Linked DNA regions of Homo sapiens: regions 1 and 2 are each linked to region 3. The links are contacts of gene promoters, found by promoter capture Hi-C in human tissues and cell types (Jung and others, 2019). All regions are on one chromosome and are shown on one strand. Each heading gives the region's core, a stretch centred on a gene start or on the middle of the fragment in contact. The rest is flanking DNA. Distances are from core to core; before and after follow the strand shown.

The links. Contacts are between HindIII fragments. The study calls those that stand out against the background at their distance.
Region 1: a contact is called between the fragment with the promoter of ST3GAL5 here and the fragment with the promoter of C2orf68 in region 3, in 1 of the 25 tissues and cell types used here (adrenal gland).
Region 2: a contact is called between a fragment that was not itself captured here and the fragment with the promoter of C2orf68 in region 3, in 1 of the 25 tissues and cell types used here (adrenal gland).

What each region holds. Positions count from the first base shown.
Region 1 is chr2:85,886,406-85,890,321 of GRCh38, forward strand. It overlaps ST3GAL5 (ST3 beta-galactoside alpha-2,3-sialyltransferase 5), which reads right to left and starts at 2,585. Exons shown (of 7, transcript NM_003896.4): 1 at 2,419-2,585. The coding sequence starts at 2,500. It overlaps ST3GAL5-AS1 (ST3GAL5 antisense RNA 1), which reads left to right and starts at 2,875. Exons shown (of 3, transcript NR_110569.1): 1 at 2,875-3,398. RefSeq lists enhancers at 1,167-1,286, 1,297-1,426, 1,765-2,265, 1,957-2,036 and silencers at 2,207-2,326, 2,367-2,986. The HindIII fragment of the contact is 1,894 bases long and covers 1,895-3,788 here.
Region 2 is chr2:85,919,773-85,923,537 of GRCh38, forward strand. No RefSeq gene overlaps it. Among named protein-coding and RNA genes, the nearest start is that of ST3GAL5-AS1, 32 kb to the left of the region's middle. The HindIII fragment of the contact is 6,732 bases long and covers 1-3,765 here.
Region 3 is chr2:85,609,122-85,613,430 of GRCh38, forward strand. It overlaps C2orf68 (chromosome 2 open reading frame 68), which reads right to left and starts at 2,945. Exons shown (of 4, transcript NM_001013649.4): 1 at 2,757-2,945; 2 at 2,547-2,665; 3 at 314-465. The coding sequence starts at 2,863. It also overlaps a transcript of USP39 not described here. RefSeq lists silencers at 2,716-3,097, 2,717-2,786, 3,273-3,445 and an enhancer at 3,057-3,286. The HindIII fragment of the contact is 29,292 bases long and covers 1-4,309 here.

The DNA of each region.
Region 1 (3,916 bases), core at 1,335-3,834, 280 kb after region 3:
ACAAGGGGAGCTCCCAGGGTCCCGGCCAGTTCTGTTTGTTGATCTAAGTGCTGAGTGCATGGGCATGTTCAGTCTGGAAAATTCATTGAGCAGGACACTTATGGTATGTCTACTTTCCTAGTATCTATGCTATACTTAAAAAAAAAAGAGGAAAAAAAAGTTTTGTCTGTCTGGTGTCCAGGTAAGACAAGCCTGGTAGTGTCCTTGAAGCCTCAAAGCTGATTTTTCTCCTGCTCCCTTACGCATTTCACTTGCTTCTCCTCTGCACGTGTGCTTAAGCTGGCTGTCTCCCGGGCGAGCCTGCGTGTCACCGTCATATTTATGGTTTCCTCCCACACCAGGCCTGTGATTCACCCCACTTTGGATGCCTTTGCTAACTTATGCCACCCACACTGATCCAGCCCTTGCTTTTCCTTCCTCAGCAGTTAGGCAGCTTGGAGCATCATTAACATGTGTATATTCCCAGTTGTTTTACTTCTGCCAGAGCTTCCCAGCAGACTAAAACCACGGAGCATGCCCTTCGGGAGTGATCTCAGTCCTCCATCGTGTCCACAGGCAGTGCGGATTAAATCGCTCCTCAGGAGCCAGGAGGGTGTGGAAGGTGAGCTTTATCCCTTCTCCCAGAAACTGCTGGCTCCAAGACACCCACCTCAGCCCTCCAGGACCTGGAATGGACTCCCACAGAGGACTCACCAACCTCTTTTCATTCATTGCCTCCCGAGGCCAACCTGCTAGATAAATTCCCCTCATTGCTGCAAATAGTCCCACAAGGCAAGCAGGGAAGAACTAGAGGAGCAAACCAAAGAACAAAGAGTGTGTTCTTATTCTGCCACGGATATATCCTTAACGTTCATCACCAATCTATTTTGATAACATGCAACAATTTACAATTTATGCCAAAATTATAAGAACTGTCCAAATAGTCGTAAATGTGAGCTCTCAAAATTTCTGCCTGTCAGCCCTCTCTCTTCCATGAGCCCCTTCATGCCTTCCTATCTCACCTGTTTCTTTTCTCGCCTAGACGAAGAAATGCTGATCATAACCCAGAATATCCAAGGGTCATTTCATCTTACAAAAACAGCAGCATCCATATAACAGGCACATGGGTAAAAGACTCAAGACATGCTGGTTATATGCTCTCGCAGTTCGTATGAATCTCTCCTTCTCCAAGTGACAGCTGGAATTCAGGTGCTTCTAGGCTCTGTTACTAGCAATGTTAGACACTCCTCGAAGCTGTCAAGCTCTCAGGATTACACAAGTGAAACCACAACCTGTCCTGACTGTATTCAAGTCTGTGCCCCTTCATGCAGCAGAAATGGATTCCTCTTCCACAGTTTCAGCAGCTGTATCCTTCCGTGGAAAAGGATTAGCAGCCATAAGCCCGGGGGAGGGCAGCTAAACACCAGAGGGCAGGAGATGAGTCTCCTTCCTCTCTGTGACACCCAGCACGGCCCTGCCACGAGGAGCAGGCAACCACTGGTGCCAGATGAAGCGCAGCACATAAAACCATTTTCCCCTTCAAATGAACGATGCCTAATTAAGCAAAAGCCGCATGCATGACTTAAGACATGAGGATATAAAATTCGTCTTCCGAGTCAGCTAGAGATTCTGCAGGATCCTCTACCCTCGTAAACGTATTTTTTTATGATTAGAAAAACCCGGGGCCTGGAAGGGACCTCGGCCATCGGCAGGGTAAGCTTCTCAGGAGAGACCATGAGCCCGAGCCCCACAGGGGGATCAGTGTCTGCCAAGGTCACCAAGCGGGTGTGAGGCAAGGGCAGGGCTCCTCGGGGATGCTCTCGGAAAACCCTGCGTTACTTACACACGCAAGGCGTACAATGAATGCACACCCGCGTCAAGCCACGGCTTACAATTCAGAAGAAATCAAAAGGTCGCCAAAACCTGTCTTCTCCGCAAGGCTGGCTGCAGAGAGGGTGCAGGGAAGGTCACCGGCAAATTTCTACCAGCGGCCCCACATCACGCCTCCCCGATGGATGCAGAGAGAGGTTTCAGGAGCTGCTAGTAACCTTGCAGGGGGTTCCCTAAGCCCATCCCAGGAAAACGAGTTAACTCGGCTCTGCTAACTCCGAAGCTTCCAGCAATGAATTAAATCCCGAGCTGCAGCGGAAAGCGGCGGGGAAAGGGCCACTGCGGCGGGACCCGACACCCGGCGGTCCGCCCCACCCTCTACCGCGTACACACCTGCGTGGGACCCCCCGCCCGGTCCACACGGCCCGGGACCACGACCCTCCGCCCGCGCCCCAGCCGGGCTCGCCTGAGGGTGTCGTGCCCTGGGCGCTGCCCGCGGGGTTCGAGGCGGAAACGCCGCGCCCAGCCGGCCCGGGAAGAGACAAGTCGCCGCCGCAGCCCCCAGCCCGCGGGCCCCCGCGACGCCGAGGAGGGGGCTGCGCCACGTACCTCGGCCGGCAGGTGCCGCCGCTGCCTCGGTCCGCGGCTGCAGGGGACGCCGCTCCGCGCAGCCCGCCGCCTTCGTCCGCATACTAATGAGGGGGCGCCGGCCGGCCGCCAGCCCGGTACCCCGCGCCCCCACCCGCCCCCAGCGCCGCTCTCGCGCCCATTCAGCTGGGGGCCGCCGCTCCCCCGCTCAGATGCGGAGGAGGGGCGCGTGGGCGGGGTCTGACGTCACGAGGACGCGGACGGCCAATCGGAGAGCACGATGCCTCCGCGGCGGCCCCCGCCCCCGGGCGCGCGGCCAGTCAGCCCTGCGGTGCGGTGGGCATTGCCAGAGCAGGGCGCCCCCTGCAGGGACGCACCCGGGGCGGGGGCCAGGCTGGGGCGAGCCCCCCTTGGTTCTGGAGAGGAAATGACATACAGTTTGTGAAAGCATAAATATTCGTGAAAATAAGAAAATTCAGGAAGGAAACAAAGCTTAAGGCAGTGATTGATAGGTTATTTCTTGGACACAGCTGAACGTATACTGTGCGCCTGCAACTTTCCGGTGGTTTCGGACCGGACTTCAGTGAAGCCAGTGAAGTCGGTCGACTTGCAGAACTTCCTTTCAGAGGGGCGTACACAGCACCGCGGCCGTGTGCCTGTGATCTCCTTCTGAGTTTGAAAAAGAAGATCCTAGACACCGAGCCAAATATGTTTGCATAAACCGGGAGACTTGTGGCTCTATTTTGTAACAGCTTGGCGCAGGGCAGCTGGTTTGGAGATGTCTCTGTTCTTCCCTTGGTGGGGGTGCCGGAAAAAATGTGCTGCCTGGGCGATCGAGGTTGGGGCAAAAGCGTTGCAAAGGAAAAGGTGGGAGGACTCTACTTTCACATTTCCCAAAAGAGTTTTACCATAAGACTATTTCTGGATTGTTCTAACGTGAGGATATTGGGAGCATTTTGAAAATACTGGAGGAAAAGCTGTCACTGGGCGATTTAAATCCGGTAAGTTGGCCAAGGCAGAGCAGCTGCTGGGGTCAGCGACAGCTGACCCTTGCAGCTGAGTATCTTGCCCTCTTAATCTTGGAGATCAGCCCAAGGCCCATGTGTTACAGGAAAGGGGTCCCGATCTAGACCCCAAGAGAGGGTTCTTCGATCTCACGCAAGAAACAATTCAGAGTAAGTCCACAGTGCAAAGTAAAAGCAAGTTTATTAAGAAAGTAAAGTGGTGGCTGGGCACAGTGGCTCACGCGTAATCCCAGCACTTTGGGAGGCTGAGACGGACAGATCACCTGATGTCAGGAGTTCAAGACCAGCTGGCCAACATGGCAAAACCCCGTCTCTACTAGAAATACAAATATTGGCCGGGCGTGGTGGCGCAAGCCTGTTGTCTCAGCTACTCACGGGGCTGAGGCAGGAGAATCGCTTGAACCCGGGAGGCAGAGGCTACAGTGAGCCGAGATCGCCACTGCACTCCAGCAGGGCATTCCTGAAAATAAGAGGAGGGACATATCCAACTAAGG
Region 2 (3,765 bases), core at 1,142-3,641, 310 kb after region 3:
GTTCAAGCGATCCGCCCACCTTTGTCTCCCAAGTAGCTAGGACTATAGGTGCACACCACCACACCCAGCTAATTATAAAATTTTGTTGTGGAGACGGGCTCTCATCACGTTGCCCACGCTGATCACGAACCCCTGAGCTCAAACAATCTTCCTGCCTCGGCCTTCCAAAGTGCTGGGATTATAGACATGAGCCACCACACTGGGCCAAAATTCACCCTTTTAAAGTATGCAGTTCTGTTTTTTAGTGTATTCACAGAGTTGTGCAACCATCACCACTATTTCATAGTAGAACATTTTTATAACTCCTAATGGAACCAATACTGTTATCAATCACTCTCTATCCTCCCTCCTGAGAGATCGACTTTAAACTATTTGGTGCTGTACCCATTTTGCTTTGTATAGATAACAGTTGATCATTGCTACACAATAGTCAGTAGTCTGCTCATAAGTAATATCACAATTATTCTTCAGACTTAGTAAGAGCTGGCTTGAGAACTGTGTCAGGAGTAAGTTCGGCAGGGGAATGGTAGAGATGAAGAGGCTTAAAGAACAGTTTGTTTCTCTCTCATAGAATAATCCAGGTAGCTCCAGGTAGCTCACAGCTCCATCTTCCCTAGGGCACGAGCAACTTTCTCAGGATACAAAATGTCAGCTAGAGCTCCAGCTGTTATATCCTTGTTCCAGACAGCAGGATGAAGACAGAGATGAAGATTGCATGCCATTGGCTTTTAAGGAAAGGTCTCAGAAGTTGCCACAAACACTTCTACTAACTTTTTTTTTTTTTGAGATGGGGTCTTACCCTGTCACCTAGGCTGGAGTGCAGTGGCACGATCTTGGCTCACTGTAACCTTCGCCTCCTGGGGTCAAGCAATTCTCCTGCCTCAACCTCCCGAGTGTCTGGGATTATAGGCGCCCGCCACTACACCTGGCTAACTTTTTTTGTATTTTTAGTACAGATGGGGTTTCACCACGTTGGCCAGGCTGGTTTCAAACTCCTGACCTCAAATGATCCGCCTGCCTAAGCTTCCCAAAGTGTTAGGATTACAGGCGTGAGCCACCATGCCCAACCACTTCTACTAACATCTAATTGACCAGAACTCACTAGTATGATCATATCTAGCTGTAAGAAAGGCTGGGAAATTTAGCCTTATTCCAAAGAGCCAGTTAAAAATTGGGGTTTGCATTATTATGAAAGAAAAGACCAGGTATTTGGTAGATGTATCAGTCAGCAAATGCTATAATAATTCTGCATAACAAACCATGAGCATACAACAATGAGCTTTTGTTTTCCTTGCCCTCAGGGCTGTGGGTTGGCTGGGAGGCTCTGCATCAGGCTACAGGGCTGCCGGGCTTGGTGGAGGTATACTGCACTCACACTAATGGAGGGCACTGCAAAATCACATAACAAAGGGTATGAGTGTAAAATTCTAACACCAGAAGCGTCTGCAGAATGATAAACAATGATTCATTTATACAGAGGACAACCAAGATTGCCAGGAAATTCAATGTCTGCAGTCTTGGTCCCCGGAGACCTCCCAGGAACCTGCTGCTGCTGCTGTCCTACAATTCAGCTCCCAGTGTAGCTTCCAGTTCTGATGATCCCACTTCCCCGGTTACAGATTAAGCTAGTCCAGCCTCTCACATGAGCTTTTTAGGCCACAGTCCCTAGTTTCAGCCTAACCAGACACCTGCAGCCTTTTCTCTAAGGTTTTGCCAAGACAAACAGAGTAGTTCAGGATGCCTCTAAGGGAGAAGGAAAGTGGGAAAAATCATTTGGGAAAAATTCAGAGTGCAGAAGCAGCCTGCCTGAAAAGTTGCTGGAACAGACAAAAATAAAACAACCTGGGGAAAATAAAACAAAACAAAACTCAGGCTGGACCTGGACAGATAAACAAACAGGATCCCGCACAGGAGTTCTTTATTCTTTGTCTAATTAGCAAGCTCCCAGGAAAAAATTTTCTCCCTTTTTCAGTCAGATACATGGTGAGAACTTGCACACGGAGGAGGGGGGATTACCTAAAACAAACTCACAGTATACAAACAAGAGAAGCTGTGCTTTGTGCTTACCTAAAAACATACCCACAGCTGCATGAGATAAGGGGCGTCGCACAGACAGCCTTACTGATAAGAGAAGTTACTCAAACTGCTACAGAGATGAGAGGGGTTTCTCAGCTGTAACCTGGCAATCCACTCTGACTCCTCTCTCTGCTGCAGAGAGCTTTATTTCTTTCACTTATTAAACTTTCCCTCCAACACCATGTTTGTGTCTGCGTTCCTAATTTTCTTGGACATAGGACAAAGGACCTGGGGTACCAGTTAAGACAAAGAGAAACTGCTACATTAAGGTGGGTTGGTGAGACTGCAACACCTCTATGTAGGGCCAGAAGCCATTTTCCTCTGCCCCACTTCCCCGGGGGCCAGCCAGAGTCAGACCCATTTTTCCCGTTCAAATTCCCCAAACACAAAAGCTTCATCATGCCATTTTCTATTACAATTGGGCTTGAAGGTACATCTACAAGAGAGTGAAAGCCCAGGCAACTTGTCCCTTGAGTTACAAAGAATTCCGTTTATCTTTCCTGGGGTAAGACTAAGTCTACAGCAGTAAAAATTCAGCACTCAGATTGGTTTTCAAAGGCTGACCTTTCCATTATTTACATTCTTAATGAATCATCCTGCTTAATTGTAATCAGTGGAGCTTAAGGCAAATTTCCAAAAGGTTTGGTCAAACTTTTGGTGTAAATAATCTCAGTGTATCTATTTCAACTTTACTTAGTCCGCTTCCATTAGTAACATGAAGAAGCATTTTCTTGGGTACAACCCAAAGTTAGCACCAATTATGAAATCTATTGGTTAGTTCAGCAAATTAAACAGTTACTTTTGTTGTTGTTTTTTGAGACAGGGTTTTGTTCTGTAGCCCAGGCTAGAGAGCAGTGGTGCCATCTCAGCTCACTGCAACCTCTGCCTCCTGAGCTCAAGTGATCTTCCCACCTCAGCCTTCCTAGTAGCAGGGACCATAGGCACCTGCCACCATGCCCCGCTAATTTTTTTTTTTATTTATTTTTTGTAGAGATGGGGTTTCTCCATGTTGCCCAGGCTGGTCTCAAACTCCTGGCCTCAAGTGATTCACCCGCTTCAGCCTCCTAAAGTGTTGGGATTACAAGCATAAGCCACTGCACCCAGCCAAAATGGTTACTTTCAGTAACAGCTGTGGCCACCCCCTCCTCATGGAGGTTTTTTTGTTTGTTTGTTTGAGACGGAGTCTCACTCTGTCCCCAGGCTGGAGTGCAGTGGCACAATCCCAGCTCACTGAAACCTCTGCCTTCTGGGTTCAAGTGATTCTCCTGCCTCAGCCTCCCGAGTAGCTGGGACTACGGGTGCCTGCCACCACTCCCGGCTAATTTTTTGTATTTTTAGTAGAGATGGGATTTCACCATGTTGGCCAGGATGGTCTCGATCTCTTGACCTCGTGATCCGCCTGCCTTGGCCTCCCAAAGTGCTGGGATTACAGGCGAGAGCCACCACTCCCGGCTTTTTTTTTTTTTAAATACAGTTAAACATACATGTATCTTGTGACCCAGAAATTCCACCTCTAGGTATTTTTACCTTAGACAAATGAAACCTATGTCCATCCACCCTACACAAAAACTGGTACCTAAATGTTCACAGCAACTTTATTCTTAGTAGCCAGAAACTGGAAAAATCCAAATGTAACATCCAACAACAGATAAATGGATACACAAATTGTGGAATATGCATGCAATGGAA
Region 3 (4,309 bases), core at 1,695-4,194:
CCTGCCCTGTCCCTAAACACTCTCACAGAACTCCATTTAGCTCAAGGCTTTTTGCCAGCACCTGTCATTTCCTATGTGTCTCCTGTAATAGTGATTCTCCACTGGGGGCCAAGAGCCCTCCCTGTTCCCCTACTGAGAATCACTGTGAGATGGGAGTGAGTTGTGCTCAAAAGCACTGCCCGGCAGGCCTAGACTCACATGTGGAGCAGACGCTTCCCATTGGGGGTCCTGAGGAAAACAGGGCTCAGGGTCTGACAATGATTACTACCATGGCCCAGGACCTTCAGGCTGCAGCTGTTTCCACCAGGCGTACCTGATAGACGATAACTGATGTGACCTCTCCACTGTCTGCCTCGTATTCTAAGCAGAAGAGCTGATGGCCAGAAGGCTCCAGCTCAGAGCCTCCACTACTGCTGCTTTCACCGGACTCTTCATAGTCTGGGTTGCGTGGGTGGGCAGAGACATCTGGAAGGATGAACCACAGTAAGAAAGAAGAGGGGGGGTGCTGCTGAAGGCCCTGTCCATAGAGATGCTGCAGGAAAATATACGGTTAGGAAAGCCCCAGTCTTCTTTTTTTTGAGACGAAGTCTCACTCTGTCGCCCAGGCTGGAGTGCAGTGGTGCAATCTCGGCTCACTGCAACTTCCGCTCCCAGGTTCAAGCGATTCTCCTGCCTCAGCCTCCCGAGTAGCTGGGATTACAGGCAAGTGCCACCACATCCAGCTAATTTTCATATTTTTAGTAGAGATGGGGTTTTACCATGTTGGCCAGGCTGGTCTCAAACTCCTGACCTCAGGTGATCCACCCACCTTGGCCTCCCAAAGTGCTGGGATTACAGGCGTGAGCCACTGCACCCAGCTGCCCCAATCTTCTTATGGGTCCAGTGTAAGTGGTTTTTTTTTTTTTTTTTTTGAGACGGAGTCTTGCTCTGTTGCCCAGGCTGGAGTGCAGTGGCTAAATCTCGGCTCACCGCAACCTCTGCCTCCCAGGTTCAAGCAATTCTCCTTCCTCAGCCTCCCAAGTAGCTGGGATTACAGCCGCCTGCCATCATGCCTGGCTAATTTTTGTATTTTTAGTAGAGATGGGGTTTCACCATGTTGTCCAGGTTAATTTCGAACTCCTGGCCTCAAGGGATCCGCCCACCTCGGCCTCCCAAACTGCTAGGATCACAGGCATGAATCACCGCGCCCGGACCAGTGTAAGCATTTGGTGTGCTGCCAATCAAGGACTTATTTACCTTTGCATCCCTGCTCTGAGGCCAGCACAATCCTGTCACACAGTAGGTACACAATGCACATTTGTCTAGCAAAAAGTACTGGAAAGCAGAAGGGTGGATAGAGCTCTGCCTGGGTTCAAATCCAGGCTCTGCCATTTACTAGCTGAGATCTTGGGCAAGTTGTTTAACCTCTCTGTGCCTGTTTCCTGACTGTGAAACAGACAGAAGCTTTCTTATGAGGTTGTATAAAGACTCAATGAATTAATATACGTAAGATCTAAAAGCACTTTCACTAATGCCTAACAAAGGTAGTGGCACACACCTATAATCCCAGCACTTTGGGAGGCCGATGCGGGCAGATCACCTGAGCTCAGGAGTTCGAGATCAGCCTGGACAACGTGGAGAAACCCCTTCTCTCTCTCTCTTTTTTTTTTTTTTTTGAGACCGAGTCTTGCTGTGTTGCCCAGGCTGGAGTGCAGTGGCGCGATCTCGGCTCACTGCAAGCTCCGCCTCCCGGGTTCACGCCATTCTCCTGCCTCAGCCTCCCGAGTAGCTGGGACTACAGGCGCCCACCACCACGCCCGGCTAATTTTTTGTATTTTTAGTAGAGACGGGGGTTTCACCATGTTAGCCAGGATGGTCTCGATCTCCTGACCTCGTGATCCGCCCGCCTCGGCCTCCCAAAGTGCTGGGATTACAGGCGAGAGCCACCGCGCCCAGCCGGGGAAACCCCTTCTCTACAAGAAATACCAAAATTAACCGGTGTGGTGGCACACGCCTGTGGTCCCAGGTACTCGGGAGGCTAAGGCTGCAGTAAGCCCAGATCGCACCATTGCACTCCAGCCTGGGCGACAGAGACCTAGTCTCAAAAATAAAATAAAAACATTTTAAAAAAAGTAATAATGCTTAACAAAAATTGACCGTCATATATTAACCAGTGTGATCTCTAGGTAGCAGAGAAGCTGGGGAAAGGCCATTTACTGGGTTCATTCCGCAATTATGTGCTGGTCGCTCATCGCTGTGCCAGACTTTCTCTTTGCTAGGTAGCGGAGCACCTTACTAAAATACAGCACGGTGGGGCAAACCGGCAGATAAACTTCTTGCTGGCTCCCCGATACTCTGACAGCGATGCTTAACTGGGGGCTTATGAGTCGTCCCAGTTCTTGGTGAGAATCATTCAGCGGAGATTTGGGAGCGCTGAGGTGGAGGTTCCGGAAAGAGACGAGATGAGCTGAACCTTAGGAGTAAGAAGTGGTTTTTCCCTATAGAGAAGGGGAGTGCGTTGCAGGAAGAGCGCGCGGGCTGGAGGCAGGCGGGGCGGGCGGCCTCACCTCGGTGTCGCGGCAGGTACACCTGCAGGTCTGGCTTGCGGGGCCGCGTCGGCGCGGGCGTGTGCCGCCTCCTCACCTTCTCCTTGGCCGCCTGCTTCACCTTCTTGTCATAGTCGTCCCTGCGGGGAGCCGAGCGGGAGTCAGGGACTGTCGGGCCGGGCCAGGCCAGGCCAGGAGTGGTGGCGGCGGCGGCGCAGGGCGGGGCGGTACCGAGCGATCTGGTTCCGTCGGATATGGTGCACGAAGCCGTGGTTCATGTCCAGCCGCCCCCCAGGCTTGCAGCAGTGCCCCGGCCGGGGATGCGGCCCCGCCTCCATCAGGAGCCGGGGACGCAGAGTCGCCGCCGCCTCGACGGCCCCAACAACAGCCACCCGCCCACAGAGCTCCGCGCCGCCCCTTGCTCAGCTTCCGGCCCCGCATCCTGACTTCCGGTCTGGGAGGCCCCGGCCTGGCCAAGCGATGCAGCGCACGGAGTTTTCGGGTCTGGTCGGGTCGGGTGGAGTAGGGTATGCTTGACTTCCACCCCCCGGACGGAGGGCTTTTGTTTTTGTTTTTTTTTGTTTGTTTTTTCGTAACATATCAATAGGAAACAAGGACTTCGGCTTACAGCTGATACCAGAACCTTCAGAAAAATGCAAATCATCTATAACACAACTCGATGCTTACGGCGGTGCCTTCCCATCTTTTTTCTGGTAATAGGATGCTGTGCAATCCATCGCCATCTGCGTGACTTTGGCTGACTGTGTAACGCTGCCACTTCTCAGTTTCCTCATTAGTAAATGGGAACACCTAGAGCACCTACCTCAAATGGATTGTGAGGCCTTGAAGTGCTCAGGCAGGGCAACAGCGGCGCCCAGGCCGCAGGCGCCGCGAAGGCTCTCCTGGCCCGGCTTGCCTCCTGCTCACGGCGCCGATGGCTTAACTGTCCCCGCGGGAGGACCCAGGGTTTTTGAGGGACCTACGGGTGTATTATTTTCTTTTTTATTTATTTTTCCTTTTTTTTTTCTTTTTGAGAAGGAGTCTCACTCTGTCGCTCAGGCTGGAGTGCATTGGCGTGATTTCGGCTCACTGCAACCTCCGCCTCCCGGGTTCAAGCGATTCTCCTGCCTCAGCCTCCCGAGTAGCTGGGACTACATGCGCGTGCCACCACGCCCGGCTAAGTTTTGTATTTTTGGTAGAGATAAGGTTTCACCACGTTGGCCAGGCTGGTCTCGAACTCCTGACCTCAGGTGATCCGCCTGCCTCGGCCTCCCAAAGTGTTGGGATTGCAGGCATGAGCCACCGTGCCCGGCCCCTTTTTTTTTTTTTTCTATTTTTTCTGACCACTGGGTTCACGTCACAGCGTGTAAAATTCTCAAGTCCTTTTACAAAAGTCAAAATCAGGAATTCATGATTAGGACAGGGACAAACGGCTGGATGCAGTGGCTCATGTCTGTAATTCCAAAACTTTGGGATGCCGAAGTGGGAGTATCGCTGGAGGGAGGAATTTGAGACCAGCCTGGGCAACACAGCGAGACATCGTCTCTACAAGAAAAAAATACATTAAAAAAGAAAGAAAGAGCCGGGCGTGGTGGCTCACGCCTGTAATCCCAGCACTTTGGGAGGCCCAGGCGGGCAGATCAAGAGGTCAGGAGTTCGAGACTAGCCTGGCCAAAATGGTGAAACCCCGTCTCTACTAAAAAAAAATACAAAAAATTAGCTGGGCTTGATGGCCGGTGCTTGTAATCCCAGCTACTTGGGAGGCTGAGGCAGGAGAATCGCTT